Linked DNA regions of Homo sapiens: region 2 is linked to region 1. Evidence: promoter capture Hi-C in 16 types of primary human blood cells and fetal thymus (Javierre and others, 2016). All regions are on one chromosome and are shown on one strand. The core of a region is centred on a gene start or on the middle of the fragment in contact, and the rest is flanking DNA. Distances in the headings are between cores, read along the strand shown. Region 1 holds the start of CTSW (cathepsin W). Region 2 holds the start of MALAT1 (metastasis associated lung adenocarcinoma transcript 1).

Evidence for each region. The method cuts DNA at HindIII sites, captures the fragments that hold promoters and counts their contacts. A CHiCAGO score of 5 or more calls a contact.
Region 2: a fragment that was not itself captured here is called in contact with the fragment with the promoter of CTSW in region 1 in 1 of 17 cell types (fetal thymus); the score reaches 5.4 in fetal thymus.

Annotation. Positions count from the first base shown.
Region 1 is chr11:65,874,527-65,881,266 of GRCh38, forward strand. It overlaps CTSW (cathepsin W), which reads left to right and starts at 5,311. Exons shown (of 10, transcript NM_001335.4): 1 at 5,311-5,415; 2 at 5,676-5,760. The coding sequence starts at 5,329. The HindIII fragment of the contact is 11,122 bases long and covers 4,747-6,740 here.
Region 2 is chr11:65,496,150-65,503,017 of GRCh38, forward strand. MALAT1 (metastasis associated lung adenocarcinoma transcript 1) reads left to right here and starts at 2,896. Exons shown (of 1, transcript NR_002819.5): 1 at 2,896-6,868. It also overlaps TALAM1. RefSeq lists enhancers at 888-2,087, 1,057-1,496, 1,283-1,427, 1,657-1,896, 1,957-2,026 and 3 more, a cis regulatory region at 1,348-1,363 and a silencer at 1,557-1,616. The HindIII fragment of the contact is 1,283 bases long and covers 1,884-3,166 here.

The DNA.
Region 1 (6,740 bases), core at 4,061-6,560:
ACAGAGCGAGACTCCATCTCAAAAATAGTAATAATAATAATAGCTCTTTAAAACGAGAAAGACAGTAACAAGTGTTGGCAAAGATACGGAGAAACTGGAGCCCTCATGCACTGTTGGTGGACAATGGTCTGGCAGTTCCTCAAAATGTTATCACATGACCTGACAATTTCACTCCTAGGTATACATACCTAGGATAATTGAAAAGATATGTACACACACACAAATCTGTACGCAGCGTTTATAGCTGCACTATATATAAGAGCCAAATGCAGAAACAACACAAAAGCCGTCAACTGATGAATAACAAGATGCAGTACATCCACACAGTCGAACATTATTCAGCCATAAAAACTAATGAAGTACTGATGCATGCCACAATATAGGTGAATTCTTTTTTTTTTTTTTTTTTTTAATTGAGACGGAGTCTTGCTCTGTCGCCCAGGCTGGAGTGCAGTGGCGCCATCTCGGCTCACTGCCAGCTCCGCTTCCTGGGTTCACGCCATTCTCCTGCCTCAGCCTCCTGAGTAGCTGGGACTACAGGCACCCGCCACCAGGCCCGGCTAATTTTTTGTATTTTTAGTAGAGATGGGGTTTCACCGTGTTAGCCAGGATGGTCTCAATCTCCTGACCTTGTGATCCGCCTACCTTGGCCTCCCAAAGTGCTGGGATTACAGGCGTGAGCCACCGCGCCCGGCCAATATAGGTGAATTCTTGAAACTACTATGTGAAGTGAAAGAAGCCAGACACAAAAAGCCACATATTCCATTTATTTTTTATTTTTTTTAGATGGAGTTTCGCTCTTGTTGCCCAGGCTGGAGTGCAATGGCATGATCTCAGCTCACCACAATCTCTGCCTCCTGGGTTCAAGCAATTCTCCTACCTCAGGCTCCGGAATGGCTGGGATTACAGGTGCCTGCCACCACACCTGGCTAATTTTGTATTTTTAGCCGAGATGGGGTTTCACCATATTGGTCAGGCTGGTCTCGAACTCCCGACCTCAGGTGATCCACCCACCCTGGCCTCCCAAAGTGCTTGGATTACAGGCGTGAGCCACCGTGCCTGGCCCACGTATTCCATTTATATGAAATAACCAGAATAGGCAAACCCAGAAAAACAGAAAGTAGATTAATGGTTGCCAGAGGAAGGTGGGGAATGGGGAGTGTCTGCTAATGGGGTCTGGGTTTTCTTTGGGATAATGAAAATATTCTAACACTAGATAGTAGTGATGGTCACACAACTATGCAAACATACAAAAACCCACTGAATTGTACACTTCAAAAAAGTGAATTTTCTTTGGGAGGCCGAGGCGGGTGGATCATGAGGTTAGGAGATCAAGACCATCCTGGCTAAGACAGTGAAACCCCATCTCTACTAAACAAATTAGCCTGGCGTGGTGGCAGGCGCCTGTAGTCCCAGCTAATCGGGAGGCTGAGGCTGGAGAACGGCGTGAACCTGGGAGGTGGAGCTTGCAGTGAGCCGAGATCGCGCCACTGCACTCCAGCCTGGACGACAAAGTGAGACTCTGTCTCAAAAAAAAAAATGTGAGTTTTATAGTATGTAATAATACCACAATAGGCCAGGCACGGTGGCTCACGCCCGTAATCCCAGCACTTTAGGAGGCCAAGGTGGGTGGATCACCTAAGGTCAGGAATTCCAGACCAACTTGGCCAACATGACAAAACCCCATCTCTACTAAAAACACAAAAATTAGCGGGCTATGGGGGCGAACGCCTGTAGTCCCAGCTACTCAGGAGGCTGAGGCAGGAGAATCACTTGAACCGGAGAGGTGGAGTTTGCAGTAAGCCAAGATCGTGCCACTGCACTCCAGCCTGGGCAACAGAGCAAGACTCTGTCTCAAAAAAAGGAAATATAAAAAAAGGCAGGAAAGGGGTGCTGCTATCACCCCATTTCACAGATAGGGAGGCTGAGAGACTTGTCCCAGGTGAAGGATGGGACTTGCACTCATGTCCCACGGACTTCAAGACTCGCTGGGCTCCTTGCCCCATATTAGAGCATTAAGGACCCGCCCTGCAAACACCCACTCTGTGCCAGCCACAGTGGTGGGTGCTCCACTAAGTATCTTCCACTCAAGCCTCAGCCTGAGAATTGTCATTGCCAATTAGAGATGAAGACATGAGGCCCAGGGGGGATGACTTAGTGCACAGCTGGTGCACAACCTAGACCTGAACCTCCATCTTTGCACTATCCAGCCCGAGTGAGCCTTCCACTTGGAGTTGCCTCCTCAGAATGCCTCCCTCGTCCTCTGCACCCCCAGTGACTTTCCCTGCCTTCGCCTGCTCTGCACTGGGTCCCTTTCAAGGTCCCAGACACCACTGGATCAGTGTCTCCCTCCTACCAAGCAGGGAGCTCCTCTCAGGCAGTGAGGCCCCTGTGCCCATGGCCCAGCCCTTACTGGGTACCAGCTGGGATCTGCAGAGTAGGCAGTTGAATGAACAAATGAGTGAGTGGGTGGAGGAAGTTCATTGATTCACTCAACAAATGTTTTCTCGGCCGGGTGCAGTGGCTCACGCCTGTAATCCCAGCACTTTGGGAGGCCAAGGCAGGTGGATTGCTTGAGGTCAGGAGTTTGAGACCAGCCTGACCAACATGGTGAAACCCTGTCTCTACTAAAAATACAAAAAGATTACCCCAGCATGGTGGTGCACACCTGTAGCCCTAGTTACTTGGGAGGCTGAGGCAGGAGAATTGCTGGAACCCGGGAGGCAGAGGTTGCGGTGAGCCGAGATCGTGACACTGCACTCCAGGCTGGGCGACAGAGTGAGACTCTGTCTCAAAAAAACAAAGCAAAACAAAACAAACAATGTTTACTGAGTGGCCACTGTGAAGCAGATGCTGTGGTGCTAGCCAGGGACACAGCACTGACCAAAAACAGACCCAAACCTCCTGGCCTCAGGAGCTCTAGTTCAAGGGAAGGGAGGAGAGGATCAAAGGGAAGGCCACTGGGCCCCACACCTCCAGTTCCTTTTCCCCGTGGCCTCCCACATCCCCTACCATCACAAGAGGCCCACACTGGGACCTCCACCTCTGAGGGCTGACATGGAGCCTTAACTATCAGTCACACACAGGACAAGACTGGCTGGGGCCCATAACTGGGCTCTAGAACCACAGGGCCAGGCACCACTCTGGGGATGGTCTGTCCACTGCATTTCAATAAAGGCAGCAGCATGCTTTTCAGATAGAGAAGCCCCTTGGTTTACTCTCTGGGCAGGGTGACAAAGTGTGGCCTCACGACTCTGGGAGGAATCCTAATAAAGAAACATGGTAGGCCGGGCGTGGTGGCTCACGCCTGTAATCCCAGCACTTTGGGAGGCCGAGGCGAGCGGATCACGAGGTCAAGAGATCAAGACCATCCTGGCTAACATGGTGAAACCCTGTCTCTACTAAAAAATACAAAAAATTAGCCGGGCGTGGTGGCGGGTGCCTGTAGTCCCAGCTACTCGGGAGGCCGAGGCAGGAGAATGGCGTGAACCCAGGAGGTGGAGGTTCCAGTGAGCCGAGATCGCACCACTGCACTCCAGCCTGGGCGACAGAGCGAGACTCCGTCTCAAAAAAACAAACAAAAAAAAGAAACGCAGTAGTGAGCATGTAAGTGAATAAATCCCAGGATTATAGCTGTCCTGTCTCCCACCCCATGGAACCCTAGAAAGCCAGCTCTTCACACCCTTCTCTGGTCTTGGTCACCAGTTCTCAGCCTGAACTCCTATAGGGGAGGTCCCCAGCCCAAGGACCCACTTAGAACAAAGGCAGCAGTAACGGGTGTTAATGCTGCTGCCCAGCCCTTGACCTCACAAGTCAGGCTTTGGCCTCCCTCCGTCTGTGATGCTCACCCTGTTATCCTTCTGGCTCTTCAGCCCCCTCATCCTCATCCCTAGACCGTGGGAGGGATGAGGAACGGGAGGCACTGGCTGCAGTTGCTGCTCCCGGACTCTGACTCTGCGCTTTCCTGTTTTGTTTTGTTTTTTGAGATGGAGTTTCACTTTTGTTGCCCAGGCTGGAGTGTAATGGTGCGATCTCGGCTCACTGCAACCTCCACCTCTCAGGTTCAAGTGATTCTTGTGCCTCAGCCTCCCGAGTAACTGGGATTATAGGCGCCCGCCACCATGCCCAGCTGCTTTTTTGTATTTTTAGTAGAGACAGGGTTTCACCATGTTGGCCAGGCTGGTCTCCAACTCCTGACCTCAGGTGATCCACCCGCCTCGGCCTCCCAAAGTGCTGGGATTACAAGCGTGAGCCACCGTGCCTGGCCTGGTTTTGTTTTTTTGACACAGGATCTTGGACCCACGCTGGAGTGCAGAGGCATGATCATAGCTCACTGCAGCCTTAATCTTCCAGGCTCAAGCAATCCCACTGGCCTCAGCCTCCCCAGTAGCTGGGACTACAGGAGAGCACCACCATGCTTGGCTAACTTTTTTTTTTTTAAGTAGAGATGAAGCCTTGCTCAGTTGTCCAAGTTTGTCTCCAACTCCTGAGCTCAAATGATTCTCCTACCTTGGCCTCCCAAAGTGATGAGATTACAGGCATGAGCCATTATGCCCGGCCTGCTTTCCTGTTTAAAACTCATGATGATCAATTGTTCAGTCAACAAACACCTAGCGAGCCTGACTCATGCCTAGCCCTATCCTGGGAACCGAGGACACCGAGGACACAAGCGAACTGAACACTTCTGGTGTGGTTGGAGGCAGATGCCCAATGGGCACAGGTGCAGCTGGGCTGAAGGGGCTGCAAAGCTTCTACCAGAGGTTGGGGAAGCAGGGAAGGCTTCTTGAAAGAGGCGGCCATTGAGCTGACTGAGCTTCATAGGATGAGCAAGAGTGGTTCCCTTGGCTGGGCGCAGTGGCTCATGCCTGTTATCCCAGCACTTTGGGAGGCTGAGGCAGGTGGATCACCTGAGGTCAGGAGTTGGAGACCAGCCTGACCAACATGGTGAAATGCTGTCTCTACTGAAAATACAAAAAATTCGCTGGGCATGGTGGTGCATGCCTGTAGTCCCAGCTAGTCGGGAGGCTGAGGCAGGAGAATTGCTTGAACCCGGGAGGTGGAGGTTGCAGTGAGCCGAGATCATGCCACTGCACTCCAACCTGGGTGGAAAAAAAAAAGAAAGAAAGAAAGAAAGAAAAAGGGGTGGGATGGGGAGCAGACAGGCAGGGACTGAAAGCCTGAAGGCCTGAGCAACTTGTGGGTTCTAGGGGTCCACCCTCCACCCACCAAGCCTGTCTTCCCCTTCGTGGTTTCTCCAGCCCCACCCTCACACCGTCCTCCTCGATCTGCGCGGCTTCCTGCCTCCATGCCACTCCAGACTGCACCGGCATGGCACTGACTGCCCACCCCTCCTGCCTCCTGGCCCTGTTGGTGGCAGGCCTAGCCCAAGGCATCAGAGGCCCCCTTAGGGCCCAGGTAAGTGCTCCCAAACCCTTACCTATGCCAGTCCCACGCCTGGGGTCACCCCTTCAGAAACAGCTGGCCTGTCATTCTCATTTTTCAGAGGGAGTTGCTGAGGCTGGAGAGGGGGCTGACGTGCCCAAGGGCACATGGGAAGACAGAAAAGGCTAACTGGCTGACCCCTAGCCCAGTCCTTGCACGGCTGGGAACTAAGGTGGGGCCCCAGCAATGATTCCTCTGCCCACTGCCCCTCTCCACCCTTGGTTCCTTGCCAGGACCTAGGTCCCCAGCCGCTAGAGCTGAAAGAGGCCTTCAAGTTGTTCCAGATCCAGTTCAACCGGAGTTACCTGAGCCCAGAAGGTATCACAGGGCACATACATCTCCAGTCCAAGCCCCCACTTTTTTTTTTTTTGAGACGGAGTTTCACTCTTGTTGACCAGGCTGGAGTGCAATGGTGTCATCTTGGCTCACTGCAACCTCCACCTCCCGGGTTCAAGCGATTCTCCTGCTTCAGCCTCTGAGTAGCTGGGATTACAGGCATGCGCCACCACACTTGGCTAACCTTTACATTTTTAGTAGAGATGGGGTTTGACCATGTTGGCCAGGCTGGTCTTGAACTCCTGACATCAGGTGATCCGCCTGCCTCGGCCTCCCAAAGGGCTGGGATTACAGGTGTAAGCCACGGAGCCCAGCCATCCCGCTTTGTAATAGATGAAGAAATCGAAGCTCAGGGTGGGGAACAGGCATGGCCAAGGCCACTCAGCAGGACAGGCCAGGGCTGGGGGTGTGTTCCCTGGTTTCCCGAAGGCATGAGTGGGTCCAGGATCATTCTTTGCTATGGATCTGGAGGGCAGTGGCAGGAGGTGGGGTCCTGCCCTAGTCCTACGTGATCCCCTGGCTCCACAGCCACTTCCCTGCGATTCTAGGCAGTGGACAGGGGGCCACCACCTAGTCATTTGCTCATTCAGCAAACACCCAAGGACACCCATTTTGTCCCCACATTGGGGACTTCTTCTCTAGCCCATGATCTAACCCCTGCCCCTGCCCTCTCGCTGTGCTGATCTCTCTAGGGGGCTGATCTGTGTGTGCCTTTTAGCCCAGACTGCCTGTGCCTTGTCATCTCCTCTCCCTGCCATGTTCCAGCTCTCCTCCTGTGGTCAGAGGTGTAAAGGACGTGGCCTGGCAGGAAGCTGGTCTCCAGCCACACATCCTTGAGTCACCACCACCGGACCCCTTGCCTGGCTTCCCACCTAGGGTGGCCAGAGATGGTCCTCTGGCTGCCTCTGGGGAAAACCCAACCCTCGGTGGGCTGGGTAACCACTTCCTGGGCCTGGGTATCT
Region 2 (6,868 bases), core at 1,275-3,774, 380 kb before region 1:
AGGTTACGGTGAGCCGAGATCCCGCCACTGCACTCCAGCCTCAGCGATAGAGTGAGACTTCGTCTCAAAAAAAAAAAAAAAGAAACATTCTGTAATCTGTCAAGGTAATGGAAATTAATGCAGTGACACTGACAATAATTTAAAGCATTTTAGGGCTCTTAACGTTCATCTCACTCGCTCTAGAGTGAAGGAGAGAGCAGAGAGTACAGAGCAGGTCCTAGGTCCTCCCCCAGATATAGAAAAACCGCAGTTGGAGAGACTGACAGAAGTGCTGGAGAGGAAGGGAGGCAGCAGGACGTGGAAAATCTGGGATTCAAGAACAGCTTCTGCTATTAATTAGCTGTGTGTCATTTCAGGCAAATCACAAAATCTCCAGGCCCCCAAATCCCCATTTGCGAAACGAGGTGACCTGCCTCAGTTTTCCTTCATCCAGCGATAAAATTCTACTAAAAAATTTCCAACCCCAGAGCAAGCATCAGGACTGTGCCTGAAGGGATCCGGCTGCATCTCAGTAATATTCCACTCTTACAGGCTTAAAAATAAAAAAGAAAAGAAAAGAAAACAAGAACAGTTTCACCAGCGTCAATTGAGAACAGCTGCTTCAACAGGCCCTGCTTTATGTGGGCAGGTGGGGACAGGGAGTTGGCCCAGAAAACAGGACCCTCATTTCCTGGAGCCCCCAGGGCAGCTCCCCAACACCGTACACAACCTGCATCATTTACAGGAGCCAAAGGAGTTTTAGAAATCAACTTCATAGAGTTGCTGTATCATTGTGTTAGTTTTGCCATCCTAACCTATACAGCGTCACTAATCTCTCCCCTCGGAGTTGACTGCCTAAAAACAAGCCATGGATACAGGTTCCAAAGACCCGGGGGTGAGGGAGCGGAGAGGGTGGGTGTCACCACCCCGTCCAGCTCCAAGCTTTGTGTGCCCTGGAACTCTCCATTTTAGGTCATTGCTTCAGTTTCTTTTCTAAAAAATTAGGCTGCTGCAAGGTCAGCCTGAGACCACTTCTGCCCCGAGAATTCTAGACTAGTAAGACCTGGTGACATACAAACGACGAAGATATTTTACAATAATGCCATGGCCCTTGATAGCTACACGAGGTTTGTGTTCTGATTTTAAATTAATGGATGACGTCGAGACTATATGGAGGAAATGACAAAGGACAGGAGAGAGGTGGGAAAGGAAGACCTAGACTGAAAATGGAAGTTGGGCAGCAGCTCCACGAAAGAAAGACCAGCCCCCAAGTGCAGTGACAGCGCAGAGTAGCGACCGAGAAGTTCCCAGGCCAGCTGCCACCCCGCCCCCATGCCATTCCCCAGAACAGGCACAGGCGTTAGGGCGGGGCGCGCGTGCGCAGTCACGCGCTGCGCCAACCGCCACAGCTCCGGGAAGGCGGCCAGGACCGGCTAGAGCCGGTTAGAACCAGTGGCGCCCGCCCACGAGCCAGCGCCTCACAAAGGGAGGGCGGCTCACGGCCCTCGCGTATCCCTGCGCGGCGCTCGCGAGCCGCCCCTCCCCCGGCGTTTGTCCCTGACGCAGCCCCACCGGTTGCGCAGTCCCTCCCCGCCCCCGCTCTCCCCTCCGCAGCCTGCAGCCCGAGACTTCTGTAAAGGACTGGGGCCCCGCAACTGGCCTCTCCTGCCCTCTTAAGCGCAGCGCCATTTTAGCAACGCAGAAGCCCGGCGCCGGGAAGCCTCAGCTCGCCTGAAGGCAGGTCCCCTCTGACGCCTCCGGGAGCCCAGGTTTCCCAGAGTCCTTGGGACGCAGCGACGAGTTGTGCTGCTATCTTAGCTGTCCTTATAGGCTGGCCATTCCAGGTGGTGGTATTTAGATAAAACCACTCAAACTCTGCAGTTTGGTCTTGGGGTTTGGAGGAAAGCTTTTATTTTTCTTCCTGCTCCGGTTCAGAAGGTCTGAAGCTCATACCTAACCAGGCATAACACAGAATCTGCAAAACAAAAACCCCTAAAAAAGCAGACCCAGAGCAGTGTAAACACTTCTGGGTGTGTCCCTGACTGGCTGCCCAAGGTCTCTGTGTCTTCGGAGACAAAGCCATTCGCTTAGTTGGTCTACTTTAAAAGGCCACTTGAACTCGCTTTCCATGGCGATTTGCCTTGTGAGCACTTTCAGGAGAGCCTGGAAGCTGAAAAACGGTAGAAAAATTTCCGTGCGGGCCGTGGGGGGCTGGCGGCAACTGGGGGGCCGCAGATCAGAGTGGGCCACTGGCAGCCAACGGCCCCCGGGGCTCAGGCGGGGAGCAGCTCTGTGGTGTGGGATTGAGGCGTTTTCCAAGAGTGGGTTTTCACGTTTCTAAGATTTCCCAAGCAGACAGCCCGTGCTGCTCCGATTTCTCGAACAAAAAAGCAAAACGTGTGGCTGTCTTGGGAGCAAGTCGCAGGACTGCAAGCAGTTGGGGGAGAAAGTCCGCCATTTTGCCACTTCTCAACCGTCCCTGCAAGGCTGGGGCTCAGTTGCGTAATGGAAAGTAAAGCCCTGAACTATCACACTTTAATCTTCCTTCAAAAGGTGGTAAACTATACCTACTGTCCCTCAAGAGAACACAAGAAGTGCTTTAAGAGGTATTTTAAAAGTTCCGGGGGTTTTGTGAGGTGTTTGATGACCCGTTTAAAATATGATTTCCATGTTTCTTTTGTCTAAAGTTTGCAGCTCAAATCTTTCCACACGCTAGTAATTTAAGTATTTCTGCATGTGTAGTTTGCATTCAAGTTCCATAAGCTGTTAAGAAAAATCTAGAAAAGTAAAACTAGAACCTATTTTTAACCGAAGAACTACTTTTTGCCTCCCTCACAAAGGCGGCGGAAGGTGATCGAATTCCGGTGATGCGAGTTGTTCTCCGTCTATAAATACGCCTCGCCCGAGCTGTGCGGTAGGCATTGAGGCAGCCAGCGCAGGGGCTTCTGCTGAGGGGGCAGGCGGAGCTTGAGGAAACCGCAGATAAGTTTTTTTCTCTTTGAAAGATAGAGATTAATACAACTACTTAAAAAATATAGTCAATAGGTTACTAAGATATTGCTTAGCGTTAAGTTTTTAACGTAATTTTAATAGCTTAAGATTTTAAGAGAAAATATGAAGACTTAGAAGAGTAGCATGAGGAAGGAAAAGATAAAAGGTTTCTAAAACATGACGGAGGTTGAGATGAAGCTTCTTCATGGAGTAAAAAATGTATTTAAAAGAAAATTGAGAGAAAGGACTACAGAGCCCCGAATTAATACCAATAGAAGGGCAATGCTTTTAGATTAAAATGAAGGTGACTTAAACAGCTTAAAGTTTAGTTTAAAAGTTGTAGGTGATTAAAATAATTTGAAGGCGATCTTTTAAAAAGAGATTAAACCGAAGGTGATTAAAAGACCTTGAAATCCATGACGCAGGGAGAATTGCGTCATTTAAAGCCTAGTTAACGCATTTACTAAACGCAGACGAAAATGGAAAGATTAATTGGGAGTGGTAGGATGAAACAATTTGGAGAAGATAGAAGTTTGAAGTGGAAAACTGGAAGACAGAAGTACGGGAAGGCGAAGAAAAGAATAGAGAAGATAGGGAAATTAGAAGATAAAAACATACTTTTAGAAGAAAAAAGATAAATTTAAACCTGAAAAGTAGGAAGCAGAAGAAAAAAGACAAGCTAGGAAACAAAAAGCTAAGGGCAAAATGTACAAACTTAGAAGAAAATTGGAAGATAGAAACAAGATAGAAAATGAAAATATTGTCAAGAGTTTCAGATAGAAAATGAAAAACAAGCTAAGACAAGTATTGGAGAAGTATAGAAGATAGAAAAATATAAAGCCAAAAATTGGATAAAATAGCACTGAAAAAATGAGGAAATTATTGGTAACCAATTTATTTTAAAAGCCCATCAATTTAATTTCTGGTGGTGCAGAAGTTAGAAGGTAAAGCTTGAGAAGATGAGGGTGTTTACGTAGACCAGAACCAATTTAGAAGAATACTTGAAGCTAGAAGGGGAAGTTGGTTAAAAATCACATCAAAAAGCTACTAAAAGGACTGGTGTAATTTAAAAAAAACTAAGGCAGAAGGCTTTTGGAAGAGTTAGAAGAATTTGGAAGGCCTTAAATATAGTAGCTTAGTTTGAAAAATGTGAAGGACTTTCGTAACGGAAGTAATTCAAGATCAAGAGTAATTACCAACTTAATGTTTTTGCATTGGACTTTGAGTTAAGATTATTTTTTAAATCCTGAGGACTAGCATTAATTGACAGCTGACCCAGGTGCTACACAGAAGTGGATTCAGTGAATCTAGGAAGACAGCAGCAGACAGGATTCCAGGAACCAGTGTTTGATGAAGCTAGGACTGAGGAGCAAGCGAGCAAGCAGCAGTTCGTGGTGAAGATAGGAAAAGAGTCCAGGAGCCAGTGCGATTTGGTGAAGGAAGCTAGGAAGAAGGAAGGAGCGCTAACGATTTGGTGGTGAAGCTAGGAAAAAGGATTCCAGGAAGGAGCGAGTGCAATTTGGTGATGAAGGTAGCAGGCGGCTTGGCTTGGCAACCACACGGAGGAGGCGAGCAGGCGTTGTGCGTAGAGGATCCTAGACCAGCATGCCAGTGTGCCAAGGCCACAGGGAAAGCGAGTGGTTGGTAAAAATCCGTGAGGTCGGCAATATGTTGTTTTTCTGGAACTTACTTATGGTAACCTTTTATTTATTTTCTAATATAATGGGGGAGTTTCGTACTGAGGTGTAAAGGGATTTATATGGGGACGTAGGCCGATTTCCGGGTGTTGTAGGTTTCTCTTTTTCAGGCTTATACTCATGAATCTTGTCTGAAGCTTTTGAGGGCAGACTGCCAAGTCCTGGAGAAATAGTAGATGGCAAGTTTGTGGGTTTTTTTTTTTTACACGAATTTGAGGAAAACCAAATGAATTTGATAGCCAAATTGAGACAATTTCAGCAAATCTGTAAGCAGTTTGTATGTTTAGTTGGGGTAATGAAGTATTTCAGTTTTGTGAATAGATGACCTGTTTTTACTTCCTCACCCTGAATTCGTTTTGTAAATGTAGAGTTTGGATGTGTAACTGAGGCGGGGGGGAGTTTTCAGTATTTTTTTTTGTGGGGGTGGGGGCAAAATATGTTTTCAGTTCTTTTTCCCTTAGGTCTGTCTAGAATCCTAAAGGCAAATGACTCAAGGTGTAACAGAAAACAAGAAAATCCAATATCAGGATAATCAGACCACCACAGGTTTACAGTTTATAGAAACTAGAGCAGTTCTCACGTTGAGGTCTGTGGAAGAGATGTCCATTGGAGAAATGGCTGGTAGTTACTCTTTTTTCCCCCCACCCCCTTAATCAGACTTTAAAAGTGCTTAACCCCTTAAACTTGTTATTTTTTACTTGAAGCATTTTGGGATGGTCTTAACAGGGAAGAGAGAGGGTGGGGGAGAAAATGTTTTTTTCTAAGATTTTCCACAGATGCTATAGTACTATTGACAAACTGGGTTAGAGAAGGAGTGTACCGCTGTGCTGTTGGCACGAACACCTTCAGGGACTGGAGCTGCTTTTATCCTTGGAAGAGTATTCCCAGTTGAAGCTGAAAAGTACAGCACAGTGCAGCTTTGGTTCATATTCAGTCATCTCAGGAGAACTTCAGAAGAGCTTGAGTAGGCCAAATGTTGAAGTTAAGTTTTCCAATAATGTGACTTCTTAAAAGTTTTATTAAAGGGGAGGGGCAAATATTGGCAATTAGTTGGCAGTGGCCTGTTACGGTTGGGATTGGTGGGGTGGGTTTAGGTAATTGTTTAGTTTATGATTGCAGATAAACTCATGCCAGAGAACTTAAAGTCTTAGAATGGAAAAAGTAAAGAAATATCAACTTCCAAGTTGGCAAGTAACTCCCAATGATTTAGTTTTTTTCCCCCCAGTTTGAATTGGGAAGCTGGGGGAAGTTAAATATGAGCCACTGGGTGTACCAGTGCATTAATTTGGGCAAGGAAAGTGTCATAATTTGATACTGTATCTGTTTTCCTTCAAAGTATAGAGCTTTTGGGGAAGGAAAGTATTGAACTGGGGGTTGGTCTGGCCTACTGGGCTGACATTAACTACAATTATGGGAAATGCAAAAGTTGTTTGGATATGGTAGTGTGTGGTTCTCTTTTGGAATTTTTTTCAGGTGATTTAATAATAATTTAAAACTACTATAGAAACTGCAGAGCAAAGGAAGTGGCTTAATGATCCTGAAGGGATTTCTTCTGATGGTAGCTTTTGTATTATCAAGTAAGATTCTATTTTCAGTTGTGTGTAAGCAAGTTTTTTTTTAGTGTAGGAGAAATACTTTTCCATTGTTTAACTGCAAAACAAGATGTTAAGGTATGCTTCAAAAATTTTGTAAATTGTTTATTTTAAACTTATCTGTTTGTAAATTGTAACTGATTAAGAATTGTGATAGTTCAGCTTGAATGTCTCTTAGAGGGTGGGCTTTTGTTGATGAGGGAGGGGAAACTTTTTTTTTTTCTATAGACTTTTTTCAGATAACATCTTCTGAGTCATAACCAGCCTGGCAGTATGATGGCCTAGATGCAGAGAAAACAGCTCCTTGGTGAATTGATAAGTAAAGGCAGAAAAGATTATATGTCATACCTCCATTGGGGAATAAGCATAACCCTGAGATTCTTACTACTGATGAGAACATTATCTGCATATGCCAAAAAATTTTAAGCAAATGAAAGCTACCAATTTAAAGTTACGGAATCTACCATTTTAAAGTTAATTGCTTGTCAAGCTATAACCACAAAAATAATGAATTGATGAGAAATACAATGAAGAGGCAATGTCCATCTCAAAATACTGCTTTTACAAAAGCAGAATAAAAGCGAAAAGAAATGAAAATGTTACACTACA